2 separate regions of the Homo sapiens genome follow, and region 1 is linked to region 2. The links are contacts of gene promoters, found by promoter capture Hi-C in human tissues and cell types (Jung and others, 2019). All regions are on one chromosome and are shown on one strand. The core of a region is centred on a gene start or on the middle of the fragment in contact, and the rest is flanking DNA. Distances in the headings are between cores, read along the strand shown. Region 1 overlaps LOC105373907 (a long non-coding RNA gene). Region 2 holds the start of SGPP2 (sphingosine-1-phosphate phosphatase 2).

Evidence for each region. Contacts are between HindIII fragments. The study calls those that stand out against the background at their distance.
Region 1: a fragment that was not itself captured here is called in contact with the fragment with the promoter of SGPP2 in region 2 in 1 of the 25 tissues and cell types used here (adrenal gland).

What each region holds. Positions count from the first base shown.
Region 1 is chr2:223,503,375-223,510,075 of GRCh38, reverse strand. It overlaps LOC105373907 (a long non-coding RNA gene), which reads right to left. Exons shown (of 5, transcript NR_187973.1): 3 at 4,519-4,600. Among named protein-coding and RNA genes, the nearest start is that of SCG2, 96 kb to the left of the region's middle. The HindIII fragment of the contact is 5,716 bases long and covers 1-5,670 here.
Region 2 is chr2:222,419,577-222,427,183 of GRCh38, reverse strand. SGPP2 (sphingosine-1-phosphate phosphatase 2) reads right to left here and starts at 2,641. Exons shown (of 5, transcript NM_152386.4): 1 at 2,363-2,641. The coding sequence starts at 2,581. RefSeq lists enhancers at 1,648-1,707, 1,758-1,907, 3,098-3,397 and silencers at 2,208-2,257, 2,268-2,497, 2,588-2,937. The HindIII fragment of the contact is 9,125 bases long and covers 1-7,607 here.

The DNA.
Region 1 (6,701 bases), core at 1,563-4,062, 1.1 Mb before region 2:
TGAAGTGATTTGGTCAGGTTTGTGCTCCCTGGTGGAAGTGGGGAAGATGGATCAGGAAGCCTGGGCAGCAATGGCTAGGTCAATCAGTTGATGGTCATATTTCAGGTTAGACGTGATGAGGACCCGAATAAGGCATTGATAGTGTGATGGAGGGGAAGGTGCAGAAATTTCAATATTCATCAAGTCAAACCTTCATACACTTCCGGTGGGGTTGTAAAATGGCACGGCAACTTTGGAAAACTGTTTGGCAGTTTCTCAAATATTAAACTTGGAGTACCCTGTGATCCAGAAATCTGACTCCTTAAGTATCTACCCAATAGAATTGAAAACACATCCATACAAAAACATGCATATGAACGTTTATAACAGCAGTATTCATAATAGCCCAAAGTGGAAACAACCTAAATGTCCATTGGAAGGATAAACACAATATGGTATATCCTCCTTATAGTGGAATATTATCAGCCATAAAAAGGGATAAAGAGCTGATACATGTTATTATGTGGATGAACCTTGAAAACATTATGCTAAGTGAGAGAAGCCAGTCACAACAGACCACACATTGTATGATTTCATTTATATGAATTATTCAGAATAGCCAAATCCTGGAGACAAAAAGTCAATTGATAGGCACTTGGGAGAGGTACAGGGACTGACTGTTAATGGGTACAGGATTTGTTTTTGGGGTAATGAAGAAAATGTTCTGGAAATAGAGAGTGGTGATGGTTTCACAACTCTGTGAATATAATAAGAGCCACTTGACTACATTTTAAAAGGGTGATTTTTGTGGTATATGAATTATGTATCTATAATGCCATTATTTTAAAAAAGGACATTCAGCAAGTAAAATGGACAGATCTTAGTGACCTCTGGTTGTGGAGGAGGAAGGCAAAGGTAGAGTAGAAGAAACTCGAGCCTTTCAGTTTATATAGCTGATGAGCAGATGATGCTCCTTTCCCAAAGAAAGCATTTTTAGGAAAAATTGGGGGGATAGGTAGGGAGATGTTAAGAAATAAATAGGAGGCTGGACAAGCGGTGCCCAGGGAGTGAACCAATGGATGGAGTAAAAAGTAAAGATTTTTTTGTTTTGTTTTTTAGAAAAACATTTAAAAAATATTTCTGGGGAAGGAGAAGTGATGGAAAGAGTACACTGCTCTTTAAAAATATAACCAAATAAATCAAATTTGATTAAGATGACAAGTATAAATTGGTCAACCAAGAAATACTAAGAAGTAACAAAAAAAAAGTCATTTGGAAAGAATAGGTTAGAAATGGCACAACTTTAACAAAGAGATTTATTTTGGCCCATGAAATTTAGTTCATATTTTACCACATTCCACTGGATAAACTGCATGGCCAAAATGAAAAAAAAAGTTAAAGTCAAATCTGATCTTTAGAGACTTTATGGGTTTAGAGGTCCAGAAGAAACATTCTCAGACATAAACATGCAGATCTTATTTCGTGCCAATTCTGTCAACTTTAGAATCTGATAAGAGCATGAATACTTAGAATAAAACTGACTTTCTTCATAGGCTGCACAATTACCAGCACTGGCTTCTCCTGACCCAGCTCGCTACCGTTTTCACTGGTGCAGGGACAAAGTAAAAGGGTTGGATCTCAGGCCTGTCTCCACATCTAAGCTCTGAGGCTAAGCCTTCCTCCCTAGGACTCCTCCATGTTGCCATGGTATCTTTGAGTCACCAATACCACATCTCTAACCTTTATGGCACAGGATAGTTTGAGTTAGAAGGAGTTGGAGATGAAATTCCTGTTTTTATGCAGGATACTGTGTCCCCTTCCAATCAGGTGAGCTCATTCATGCATTAAAGGCCAACCCCAAAGAAGTGTGGGAGAACCATGTGACTTCAAACCATTGCTCTATGCACTGAAGCCTATGTTTAAAGTCATATTAATAGTTATCAGTATTTGGATATCCACTAGGTGCCAAATTGAATATAAAAAACCAAAGCTTAGTTATTCAGATGGAATAAGCCACATGGCTGGTAAAAGGTAGAATCAGGATTGGGCATAGGGCCACCCATACCTAAATCACACTTTTTTTTTTTTCACTGCATTAGGTATTTTCCCAATCCCCATCATTAATAGCAAACATTATCAGTTTCCCCTGTGCATTTTTTCCTGAACATTATCCCAAGGCTTGGATATCATAATACTCAGAGTCCCATAGCTCTCTGCAGCTCTCGGAAACACCGTATTGGTCCCAGAGCCCATCAGCAATGCTGCCTTTAAGCACCGTGTCATCTAAACCATTTTATATATATATAATACTTTAAGTTCTAGGGTACATGTGCACAACGTGCAGGTTTGTTACATAGGTATACAACCATTTTAAATAGACAGGATTATATCCTGATATCAATTCCATCCATCTTTTGAGAAATTGCTTCCTTTTCTTTCCAAACTGCCCTTTGGCAGCCCAGCCTTGCATAGCTAACACCCCTCCTGTTTGGTAGAGCCACACTCACATTTCATTTAGGAATTACTTTATTCAGAAGTATTTAAGCTCAACTTTCTGACTTTGGAGACATGAAGCACAAAGAAGAAAACTTGAAGCAATACCTGATTAACGCTGAATAATTCAGAATTAATCAACGTGTATTCTAAGCTGAATGCCTAAGCTAACACATTCAGAATATGAGCCATCTGATCACTCAGAAAAAAAGAAGAGAAACTGAAGTTCAAACAGATTTAGAATCAACATTTTAATTGTAGCAACACTTCATAGTCTTCTCATTTTCTTTGTTTCTACAAATGTATTTTCTCCCCTGATCCTTATATTTTATTTTATTTTTCTCTATGATAGTATTTATTTTAAGCTGTACTATCATGTTGTTACTCCTCAGTTCTCCACAGCAACAGAGAGGTATCTGGCAGCATGAGCCAACAGAGTTATAGGCAGGGCCAGAGGTAGAGTGAGCAGCCATTACTAAGAACAAGAGGTTTTGTGGAAGAAAATGCAGCTCTAGAAATTGATGAAAACTCAGAAAGCAACAGGTGATGTCATCCCATAAAAGTCAAGGCCTTGTGGGATACAAAGAAGTACTATCAGGCAAGCAATAGTCATAAAAATAATTGCATTATTTACTTATTTTTTAAAAATAATGACAAAGAGGACTAATTTATAACCCACCAACGTATTATGTAATGTCCTCTTTATCACATTAATCTTCATTCTAGAATCCTCTCACCTCCTACATCTGTAGCCACATCTTTTTTCTCTCCATTAATTCTCAGGTCTTCCTCTCTGCCCACCCACGAACACTCAAAAGTTCTTGTTAAATGATACTTTCTTTTTATTTTTCTCCCCTTCCCTCTTCCTTTTTGAATCCTTTCTTTCTCCCATCCTTTCCTATTTCCACAAATTTACATCACATATTTACTACAGAGAACAACTGTACTTATGCGGGTTATGAGAGTGAAGTACTTATGCCATGGGGGCTGCCAAGGTTGGAGATGTCTCATATAATTAGGTCTGCTTTTCCCCATGGTCCTTCCTTCTAGTGGGCAACACTTTGTCCTCAGAGTATCAACAACTCAAGCGATTCTAAAAAAAACCTCTTTTGATGCCTGTTTATGCTCTAAAGAAATGAAGAGCTCAATGTTCCTCTACTCACGTGATTGCCTGAAATCGTAGCTTATTTATCCAGTTTGAAGCAGTGCTGGACCTTCGGTGAGAAGAGAGACGTAGCTGAACATGTTTATAGAAGTGGAAGCCCTTCCTACATTTTTCAGAAACCCAACTTACCCATATCTCATCTGCAAAAACCCAGTGATTAGGTGAGTTGAGATTTAAGTCAGAAGTTCAATGTGTTAATCCATTTTGTGTTGCTATAGAAAAATACCTGAGACTGGGTAGTTGGCTCATGGTTCTGCAGACTGTACAAGCATGGCACCAGCATCTGCTCAGCTTCCAGTGAGGCCTCAGGAAGCTTCCAATCATGGTGGAAGGTAAAGGGGGAAGATGGTGAGAGAAGGAGCAAGAGGAGAAGGCGCCACGCTCTTTAAACAACCAGCTCTCACACGAACTAATAGAGTGAGAATTCACTCATTGCTGTGAGAATAGCATGAGGGATCTGCCTCCATCACCCCCACCTTCCACTATTGCCCTACTCCAACACGGGGGTAAAAATTTCAATATGAGACTTGGAGGGAACACACATCCAAACCATATCTTTCAATGAAGTCTTTGATCCTAGCTATGAGCCCCTCATTCTCCAGCATGCTAAAATATTCAGAAATTAATTTAAAAATATTTCACATATGTTAAAATAAGGTCATAAAAACTGGATGAGCATGACTGGGAACTTACTAAGCAATTGTGATCAGGCCCTAAGGCAAGTATAGTAAAATCAGTTATTGGGGAGTAGATTAGTTACCTGTTAGCTGTGCGAACTTGGGCAAACAACTCAGTTTCTTCAGCTTTAAAATGAGGGATTATGTAATCTAATCTCTATTAATCTTTTCAGCTCTAACACTTCAAGATGTTAAGTTACCTACCTGGATTGTTTTCATGTCTCATTTTCATGTCATCTCATAAACTTCTAAAGTTGTCCTACTTTCTCCTCTATATAGTTTTGGTCTGAAGAGACAAAGAGAATGTAATCCACATTTATTATGCCAGAGGAGACTGCAAGATTAATAGTATCTTCTCTAATTACTTTAATTAATACTATCATCTGTAATTACTTTAATTAATACTATCATCTCTAATTACTTTAACAAATGTTGTTTATTTCTCCTATTTTTCTGGACTACCTCTAGCTTTTTATATTTCTCATACCATTTAATTTTAAAGCACCCGACATTTTCTAAACCTTGAAGGTTATATTTTCCCTCTATGTGCATCTTGAAGAATTGTCTTTGTTTGCATTATGTATTTATGCTGTTTAGTTAAAAGCATTAGCTACTGTCTTAACTTGTATTCATGAGGCCTTTTTCAAAAAGAGTCTTGACTTTGTAGTTGGTGGACTGATAGATGTGGTTGCTAAAACGCTGACGTTCTAAAAATAAATCTTAGTTAAATTTACAATACAATTACATAACACCAAAAGGGAGAGTTCCAGAGGTATCCATTGAAAAGGTGTTTTTACCTTAGTTAATGATACTATGTTATTGGATTAATGCACTGAATTACTGAAGCTGTCCTCCTCTCCACCCTCTCCAATGTGGGGAAGTACTTTATGAAAAGTTGTCTGTCACACTTGACAAAACTAAAGCAAGAGCAATGATATGCAAATAATTTATTATCTATATTCTTAAAGAATTGTTAATTTTCACCTAATAGTAGGAAAATTAAGGATCTCTCAGATTTTCCAGTCATATGGGTTGAATTAGCATGAACCACACACACATGAATGTTTTGGTCTGGCCAGCAATTCCATTTACATGAAATCTTGCTTCACATTAGACAACAGAATGAAATAAGATGCCAGAAAAATAGAAATTATATATATATTTTAATTTTTATTTATTTATTTATTTTTATTATACTTTAAGTTCTAGGGTACATGTGCACAACATGCAGGTTTGTTACATAGGTATACATGTGCCATGTTGGTTTGCTGCACCCATCAACTCGTCATTTATACTAGGTATTTCTCCTAATGCTATCCCTCCCCCAGTCCGCCACCCCCCGACCGGCCCCTGTGTATGATGTTCCCCGCCCTGTGTCCATGTGTTGTCATTGTTCAACTCCCACCTATGAGTGAGAACATGTGGTGTTTGGTTTTCTGTCTTTGTGATAGTTTGCTTAGAATGATGGTTTCCAGCTTCATCCATTTTAAGGCTATGAGGGTCCCAGCCAATTTGCAAAATGAACTTTGATTCTCTCTGATTTTGATGGGGCCTTCTTCAGCCTTCTTCTTGCTAACATAGGAATGATGTTGGCTACCCGTGGTAGATTGCACATTTGGACCACTAATCCTTCCTTTGGCTCTCTCCTCATCATTTGTGACATGACTTTGCAGCTCCTCCCATCAAGTGTTGGAGTCTATTTTTCCAGTCCCGGAGTCTGCACTGGTCTTGTGACTTGCTTTGATCCAAGAAATGCTGTGGAAGCATTCCAGTGCCCATCCTAGAACCGAAAATATTTTGCAGGCCTCTACTTGCTCTTGGCTCCCTGTATGCATCATTTGAACAAACTCAGGCCAGCCTGCTGTATGATAAGAGCTCATATGGAGAAGTCAGCCGAATTGTTCCAGCCAAGCCTCCAGAAATGTGACCTAAGGCAGCCAAGAATGCCCCAAACTAGCCCAGATCAGAAGAATCACCCAGCTGAGCCCAATCTACTTTGTCACCCAAAAGATGTATAAGCTGGGCTAATGGTTGTTGCTTCATGCTTGTAAGTTTTGGGGAGGTTTTTTTTTAAGCAGCAGGAGATAAGTGACATACTATCCAAATTGCTTCACTGAGATGTTCTCTCATAATTTTCACCTAAAATTTCCCACGTTATAAACTTGTAGTTCATATTCCTTAACAATCCAAACTCTCCAAACGGCTTCATTTAAACAAACTGAACAGGTAAAGTACGTTCTGAATAGATGTGAATGATTCTCCTAGAGATAAGTTGCATTAAAAACGGAAACCACCCAAATTAGGAATTTGGGAATGATACCTGATTGTTCCTCCTTACCCCAAAACACTTCCAGGTTGGACAATGACAAGTAGTGAATGGAAATATT
Region 2 (7,607 bases), core at 1,392-3,891:
AAAAAATAAGGACCATAACAGAAAAGTTGCCTGCATTCTTAGAGTTTATCATCCTCTGGAGGGGCGGGGAATAATCAGATATCCACACAAAGGCACATTTAAACAACGTGATAAATGCTGTAATGAAGAAATGCAGAAAGCAAAGAAAAACTATAGCAGGGGGAGCTAGGCTGGAAGGTCAGAGAAGTCACCCATGGAGGAACTGACCTTTGGAAATAGAAGGATGAGTGGGGAGGATATTTAGAGAAAAGACAGGCAGCTCAGGCAGGCCAACGCCTGTACAAAGGCCTGCAGAGAGGGCAGCACACTTTTCACAACTGCCCCCTTAAAGTCCTGTAAATTGCCTGAGTGTAGATAAGAGATAATTTTTGAGGGGGGGAATCAATGTGTGTATGTAAAGGATTAATCTTCCCAAGTCATTTGAAACCAACCCACCTGTAAAAACATTAATTAACCTTTCATTTATCAAGCACTCTCAAGTTTATGATTTCCCCCATTATATACCAACACAATGATTTCTTATCTTGGGCATTCAGCTTTCTTGCTTTTACATGATCTGTAAGCAGAAGTCCTGTGTTGGCTGGGTGGGTGTGGGGAAACCGCCACAATTTCACTCACTGAAGACCCACCAGGATTGTCAAGCAGTAAGAAGATAAAACTGTGTAAGAAATCTGCTTAGCTTGCTTTTAAAGGTCAAGAGGATCCAACTGTGGAGTTTAAAGTTAAGTTACCAGGGGTGATGTTTAAAACAGTTTGAGAAGCACTGGTGGAACAATTCACTCTTTTTCAGCTTCCTGAATTAGAGAAACAGGGTAGAAGCTTGTGAAGAGAGCAACAGAAAGCAACTCACGTGTCTACCTGTGGGTGTAAACAGTGTGTGCACCGAATATGTCACGGCACGTTTCAGCCATGGGACTGTTTTTTGTTTGTTTGTTTGTTTGTTTTGGTCTTTTTTTTTTTTTTTTTTTTTTTTTGAGACGGAGTCTCGCTCAGTCGCCCTGGCTGGAGTGCAGTGGCGTGATCTTGGCTCACTGCAACCTCCGCCTCAAGCTATTCTCCTGTCTTAGCCTCCGGAGTAGCTGGAACTACAGGCCGCACCACCACGCCCAGCTGATTTCTTATCCCCCCTACTCTGCCCCGTTTTTAAGACAAGGCAAGAGAAAAAAGAGGGGTTCTCATACTCATCTATAGGTTACCGGAATGTCACATGGGATAAAGAAGGAACAATAAAGAGGAAAAAATACAGAGGAGGATTTCTCTGGAGTAGAACACACAACCACCCTCACCCTCCCAAACAAATTCTGTAATCCAATGCCTATAATATTCCATTCCACACAGAAGCCAGGTTCTTCGTAATTCCTCAGTTACTACATCTAGAAATTTACACGTAAGTAAAGGCCACCTTTCTTTCACCAAAACCTTCTAGGAAGAACAAAATGTGGCTGTGTACAAGGAATTCGAATTATTAATACGTTTATTTCTGTTCTCCTGCGCCACACTTTTGACTTTGCCGAGGGAAAAGGCAGGTGCTGCCAGTGCTCCCGGTAGACATGCGTCCCCAGAAGCCAAGTGCAGCCCGTCTGGTCCCTGCTGCCTAAAGTCCCTGTGCACTGCGACGACGACGCACGCTGGTTCCCCCCAAGCCGCAGTGGGTTGTATAACCACGCTTTGAACACCTAGCGGGAGCGTAGCGAGCTTCCCTCCCAGAAGCATCTGTTAGAAGTCACTGGTGTCGGTCCATAAAAGACCCACCAGGCAGGAGGGACCCCCAGACTCTGGGGGAGGGCAAGCGAGAGTTGCTGTTAAGACATCATCGCCGGGGGTAGTGCAGGGAGGTTGTAAATCTCTCTAGGAGCTGTGTGAGCCCCAAGTTCTGTGCCCAGAGCTGGCGGTGCAGCGCGGTGAGGAGCGCGCTGAGCCCGGCTGCACCCGCATTTGTGCGCATCAGGGAAGGGGGATGGGCGGAAATGCAAGAATACGGGGGTGGGGGGGAGTCTAAGAACGTCTCCCCGGGGAAGTGCCAAGGACATCCCCGCTCCTCCGTTCCATTACGTAACTCTTACATATTTGCTGGCATCTACGTGAATTTAACTACTTTTGAAAGTGGGAAGTCTCTAAATGGACTGCATTGAAAGCGTCTGGGGATATCTCAATAGACCCGGTTGCCCCTGGCAGCGTTGGAGGGTGGCATCCTGGTTACTGGAAGGCCAGGCCTCCCCGTCCGCTCGCAGCGGCGGGAGCCGGGTCACTGCCGGGGACGGCGCCCTCTCGGCCCGGCCGGCCCCGCGTGGCGGAGTCGCAGGGACCCGCACGTCCGCAGCCGCCCCCTCCCCGTACCCGGCGAACACCTGCCCATGGTTACCTCCGGCGCCGCGGCTCTGCGCAGCCCGTTGGCCGGAGCCTCGCCGCCCTTGCCGTTGGCTGCGGGGAGATGCTCGACCCCGGGGACCCGCGCCGCGCGCTCCGTGGGGTCCGCGCCGTTCTCCCGGGGGCCTTCATCCGGAGCGGGGAAGAGCCCGCAGCGGCGCTGGAAGCGGGCGACGAGCTGGGAATCCTGCAGGCTCCGCAGCAGCTCGGCCATGGTGTGCCCGGGGCCGCGCTCCGCCGCCGCTGCCACGCCGGGCCGGTGCCCTCCGCTGGCACCGCCACTCCCGCCTCGCCCCCGCCGATCCCGCACTCCGGGCGGAGGCCGGGCGGGCGGGGCCCCGGGCCCAGCCAACAGGTGCGCCGCCCGGGTCCTAGCGCCCGCCCAGGTGTCTGCCTCCACCTTGCGCAACGCGTCCCCCTTTCTCTCCGTCCCGGAGGGCTTGGGCGGCCCCGGGCGGCCACGGGGGCAGGACCGCCTGTAACTGGACGGAGGAGTGCCGATCTCCGAACTGCGCCTCTCTTCTCCCGGCGCCCCCAACCCCCCACCCCACCTTCTTCCCCCGGCAGACGTAACACTAATGGGAGCGGCCGAGCGCGCGTGCACCTGCGGCCGCTCCCATTAGCCCATCCTTTTGGGCTCAGGCTGATCCCACAGTGACCTTCCTTGCAACTCTGAGCCCAAGGTGAAGTCGGATTTCCTCCCACGCCAGCTCCCCACAGCCAGCCACGTACTCTCACCTTCCTGCAAGACTAGTTCCCAGTAAATACAGCGAGCCCCCCAGGGAGAATTCCCAAGTTCTTTCCAAACTGCGTGATGCAACGTCTCCCTAGAGGTCCGAACACCCTTGAGCTTGCTCAAGTACCCAGGAGGTTCAAAGTGGGCCCTGAGTCATCTTCCGCGTCGCTGCCCCTGCCCTTCTGATTTGGCAACTGGGGAACATTTTCAGGTGGGTGGGAAGGAAAGTCCCTTCTGGGTTTTCCGCATTGAGAACAAAGATGCTTACCGCTTTCTCCTACTTCTTTCTTTCCGCTCTGCCTCTCTTTAAGCAATGACACTGGGAAAACCCCACCAGACCATTTAGGGAGTTTAAACGAGAAGAGAACAAAGTGCTGGAGGACTGGGGACAGGATTAGGTATCTCATTGCACCTGCACCTGCTTTAGAGCACTCAGCAGAAGATAGCAAAGGAAACATCCTGCAGGCCGGCCTTGGTTTTCCCTCCTCCCTCCTACATTTCCCTCCTGGGCTCAGAGATCCCTTGGGAGGCAACAATCAAATTAGGCCCAGGTGATCAGTCTGCAACAAAAGTGCAATTCAACCCCGTCTTTCGTTTGCAGCAGAAACCTGCATGTTTCCTGATTGTCCATGCAAAGCCTACTAAGAATTTGGTTGCACAAATGATTAATGAACACCTGTCAATGCCTTATTTATTCAGTTGTCCTTTTAGGCCTGAATGTCTTTGGGATGTGACTTTCCAGGATGATGTAGTCCCCTTCATGCCCTAGTTTCTACTTTTCTTGCTTCTCAGTCCTGTCTGGAGAGCAAAGTCAAGGGGACTGAGAGAATGCTGAAGCTCTTAAGGGAAACCATTTTCCTCTTACAGAAGACACGCAGAGTTATTGTCATGTCTGGCGGGATCACACACAGAAATGTCCGGCCCAGGAGGTGGAAGCATCTCTCCACAATGCTTCTGGCTGTCATTTACAGGTGTGAGGCAAAACCCTGTGGTTTGGTTTTAGAAGCTGGAGCTGTGATCGTTGGGGACCTGTTCTGCTTATGTGTTAAAGAAATATGTTTTCCTGTGAAGGCACTTGCATCATGTGTCTCCCGAATTTAGTGCTTCGATTTTTCTTTCTACCAGTTAGGAAAAATAGGCAAAGCAAAACATGGCACACGCAGCATTAAGTTAATTGCCAAAGAATTGTATTTGTAGACAGAGCATTTTATCTCCATGGAGGATCAGTTACTGATTCCAGCTTCTAGTGGCTCACCAAGTCACCTGATGTAAGTCACCATATGTCGCAGTTTATCCCTGTAATGAAATGATAATCCTCACTTCTTGTCTTTCTTATAAGGCTCTTGTAAAAATAACCTTGAGACAAGCTCTATAAGGCCTAGTGAGATCATGATAAGAAGGTGTATTGTGCTGGAGTCATTCAATCTAGGAAGGAATCCTCAAGAGAATTTGGCTCTGAACATCTTGAGTAGGACATCTTGAGCCTCCTGGGCAGTGGTAAAGTCCATTTCCCCAGAACCTTTTTTTTCTAAGGCCCAGTCTGATTATTCTGAACATGAATTTCCCAACCAACCTAACAAAAATCAACATCTTTGAGAAGTGGTAGGACTGAAAGACTGCTGTAATGGTGCAGAGATATCAAATAGTAGCTTGCAGTCATGCAAAAAATTTTTTTTTCTTGATACCAGAGAAACACCCTGTAGTTCTTTGATCACTGAACACTAGTCATACCTGTGGGAAATACATTTCACATCCCGCCCCCCGACCTTTTTTTTTTTTTTTTTTTTTTTTTTTTGCCAGGGCAGAAATCCAGTTATTTGTACTTTGCTCACTTGTATATATGTAACAATTACAAAATGACATATTTAAAAGGAATCAATGATGGATATATTAATACTAGTTCGGATAAAGGTTAAGCTACTATAACAAAGAGACCCCAAAATAGAGTGGCTTAAGGAACACAGACATGTATTTCTCTTTCATAGAATGGTTCTAAGGCAAGCAGTTGAGGTTAGTAGGAAGCTCTGCTCCATGGCCCTACTCCATGACTCTGGTTCTTTTCATCTTATTGCTCCACCATGCCCTGAAACTGAGCCTTAGGTCATCGTCCTCTTTTGCATGGTTGAATCTGGGTTAGGGCTGAACATCTGAAGTTCAGCTCCTGAAAGGGTGAAGAGAGAGAGTGTTCTGAGCAGCAATGTCTTATTAAGCAAGTGAGGCAGAAGTTCACACATCACTTTCACTAACATTCCATCAGTGAGAAACAATTGGAAATGTTATCTCTAGCAGGGCAACCTTATGTCAAGCTTAAGCTATATTCCTGTGGAAGAAGTGGAGGACAGAATTTTTTTGTGGGCAACCAGCAGTCTCCACCAGTATTAGGAAACTAATGTTGGTTAAAATGTTGTACAGTAAAAATCCATGTTATAATTCAGCCATAATCTACACATTTTATCTAGGCAGCTTGTCATTCACTTGGCATGTTATAAATACTCATGTGCAGATAGAATTTTTTAAAAGAAGCCACACTAAAAATAAGTTATTCCAAAAGACAATTGGCCAGGCATACATGCCTGTAATCCCAGCACGTTGGGAGGCTGAGGCGGAGGATTGCTTGAGGCCAGGAGTTCAAGACCAGCCTGGGCAACACAGGGAGACTCCATTGCTACAAAAAAATTGTAAAAGTTAGTCAGGCATGGTAGCATGAACTTGTAGCCCTAGCTACTCAGGAGGCTGAGGCAGAAGGATTGCTTGAGGCCAGGAGGTTGAGGCTGCAGTGAGCCATGACCACACCACTGCACTCCAGCCTGGATAACAGAGTGAGATCTTATCTCAAAAAAAAAAAAAAATGGGGGCAGGGACACCTGGTAACCTTTAATAAGTTAAAGTAATTTTTTAAGTGTTGTCAAAATACCTTCATTATAAATGAAAAATTTTGGTATTAATTACATTATTGCATTTTAAGTTCTGATTTAGAGTTATTTCTCTGCAAAGCACGTTACTTCCAAATTACAACTAGACTGTTCAGTTTTCAATTGGGCAATGCTTCCTGGATCAAGACAAGTATACAGAATTTGGGTTCTGTATTGATTATCTATTGCTGCATAACAAATTATCACATAAAAATAGTAGCTTAAAACAACAACATTTATCATCTCAAAGTTTTTGCAGAGCAGGAATCCAAGTGGTTTTAGCTGGGTCCCCTGGCTCTGGTTTCTCACAGGGTCACAGTCAAGGTGCTGGTTGAGGCTACATCATCTCAAGGCTCAACTGGAGGTGGATTTGCTTCCAAGATCACTCAGACGATGGTTGGTAGATTCAATTAGCTGCAGACTGTTGGCCACAGGCCATTCCCTCTTTTTCAACACATGGGCCATTTCATAGAATAGCTCATTATACAGCCTCTTCATAGAATAGCTCATTATACAGCCCTTTACTTCACCAAAACAAGCAAATGAGGAAATCAAGACATACAGAGTGTCTGAACAGGACAAAATAGAAGTATTTTATAGCCCAATCTTGGAGGTAACATTCCAATAGTTTTATCCTATTCTACTTCATAGAAGCAAGGCCCTAGATCTAGCCCACACTGAAGGACAGAGGGAGTGAGACAAGAATATGAGTAGTAAATGGTAGGGATTCTTGGGAGCCTTTTCAGAAGCTGCATACTACAAGTTCTTCATGTTTACATTAATTCTCTAATTTCATAGCCACAATATCAATATTTATTGTCCCTAAGAAATACAATGCATAGTCTTGGCCTCAAGGAGCTTCCATCTGTTGCACACATATAAGATGCATACACAGAGAAAAACGCGTGCAATAATATAAAAACAATACTAAAGGGAAAAAAATGGAGCACCAGATGACAATTTCTATTAAAAACTACACGTATCACAGCTGTAATTCTCAAATCTGGAATCAGAATTATCCCAAAAATCTGCCAAAATTATGGACCTCTTCAAAGAAAGTATAAATCCTTAAATTAGAAAAGAGAAAAACAATGAAACTAACAAATGCAAAATAGAGTTATTGGGAAAAAATGCAACAAAATAGACAAACCATTAGCTAATCTAATAAAGAAAGAACAAGAGGAAAAACAAAAGCACAAAATTTTAAATACTGAAGGAAAAATAATCATTAAAAGCAGAGGAAAAATTTTAAAAGCCTTAGAGGCTACTTTGTACACCTCTATGAAAATAAGTTTTAAAAATAGATGAAATAGATATTATTTAAGGAAAACACAACTTACTAAAATTGATCCCAGAAAAGAAAGTCTAACCAGACTAATTATCATAAAACAGCTAGAGAAAGGGGGTTAAAATACTCCTCTATGGAAAGCACCAGGCCTAGCTGGCTTCACAAAAACATTCTATCAATCATTTAAAAAATGGGTAATCACAATGCTAATTAACATATTCCAGATCATAGATGAAGACATTTTTCAAATTTTCTTTTATGAAGCAATATATTGATCTTGAAACCTGAAATAGTACCAAAAGAA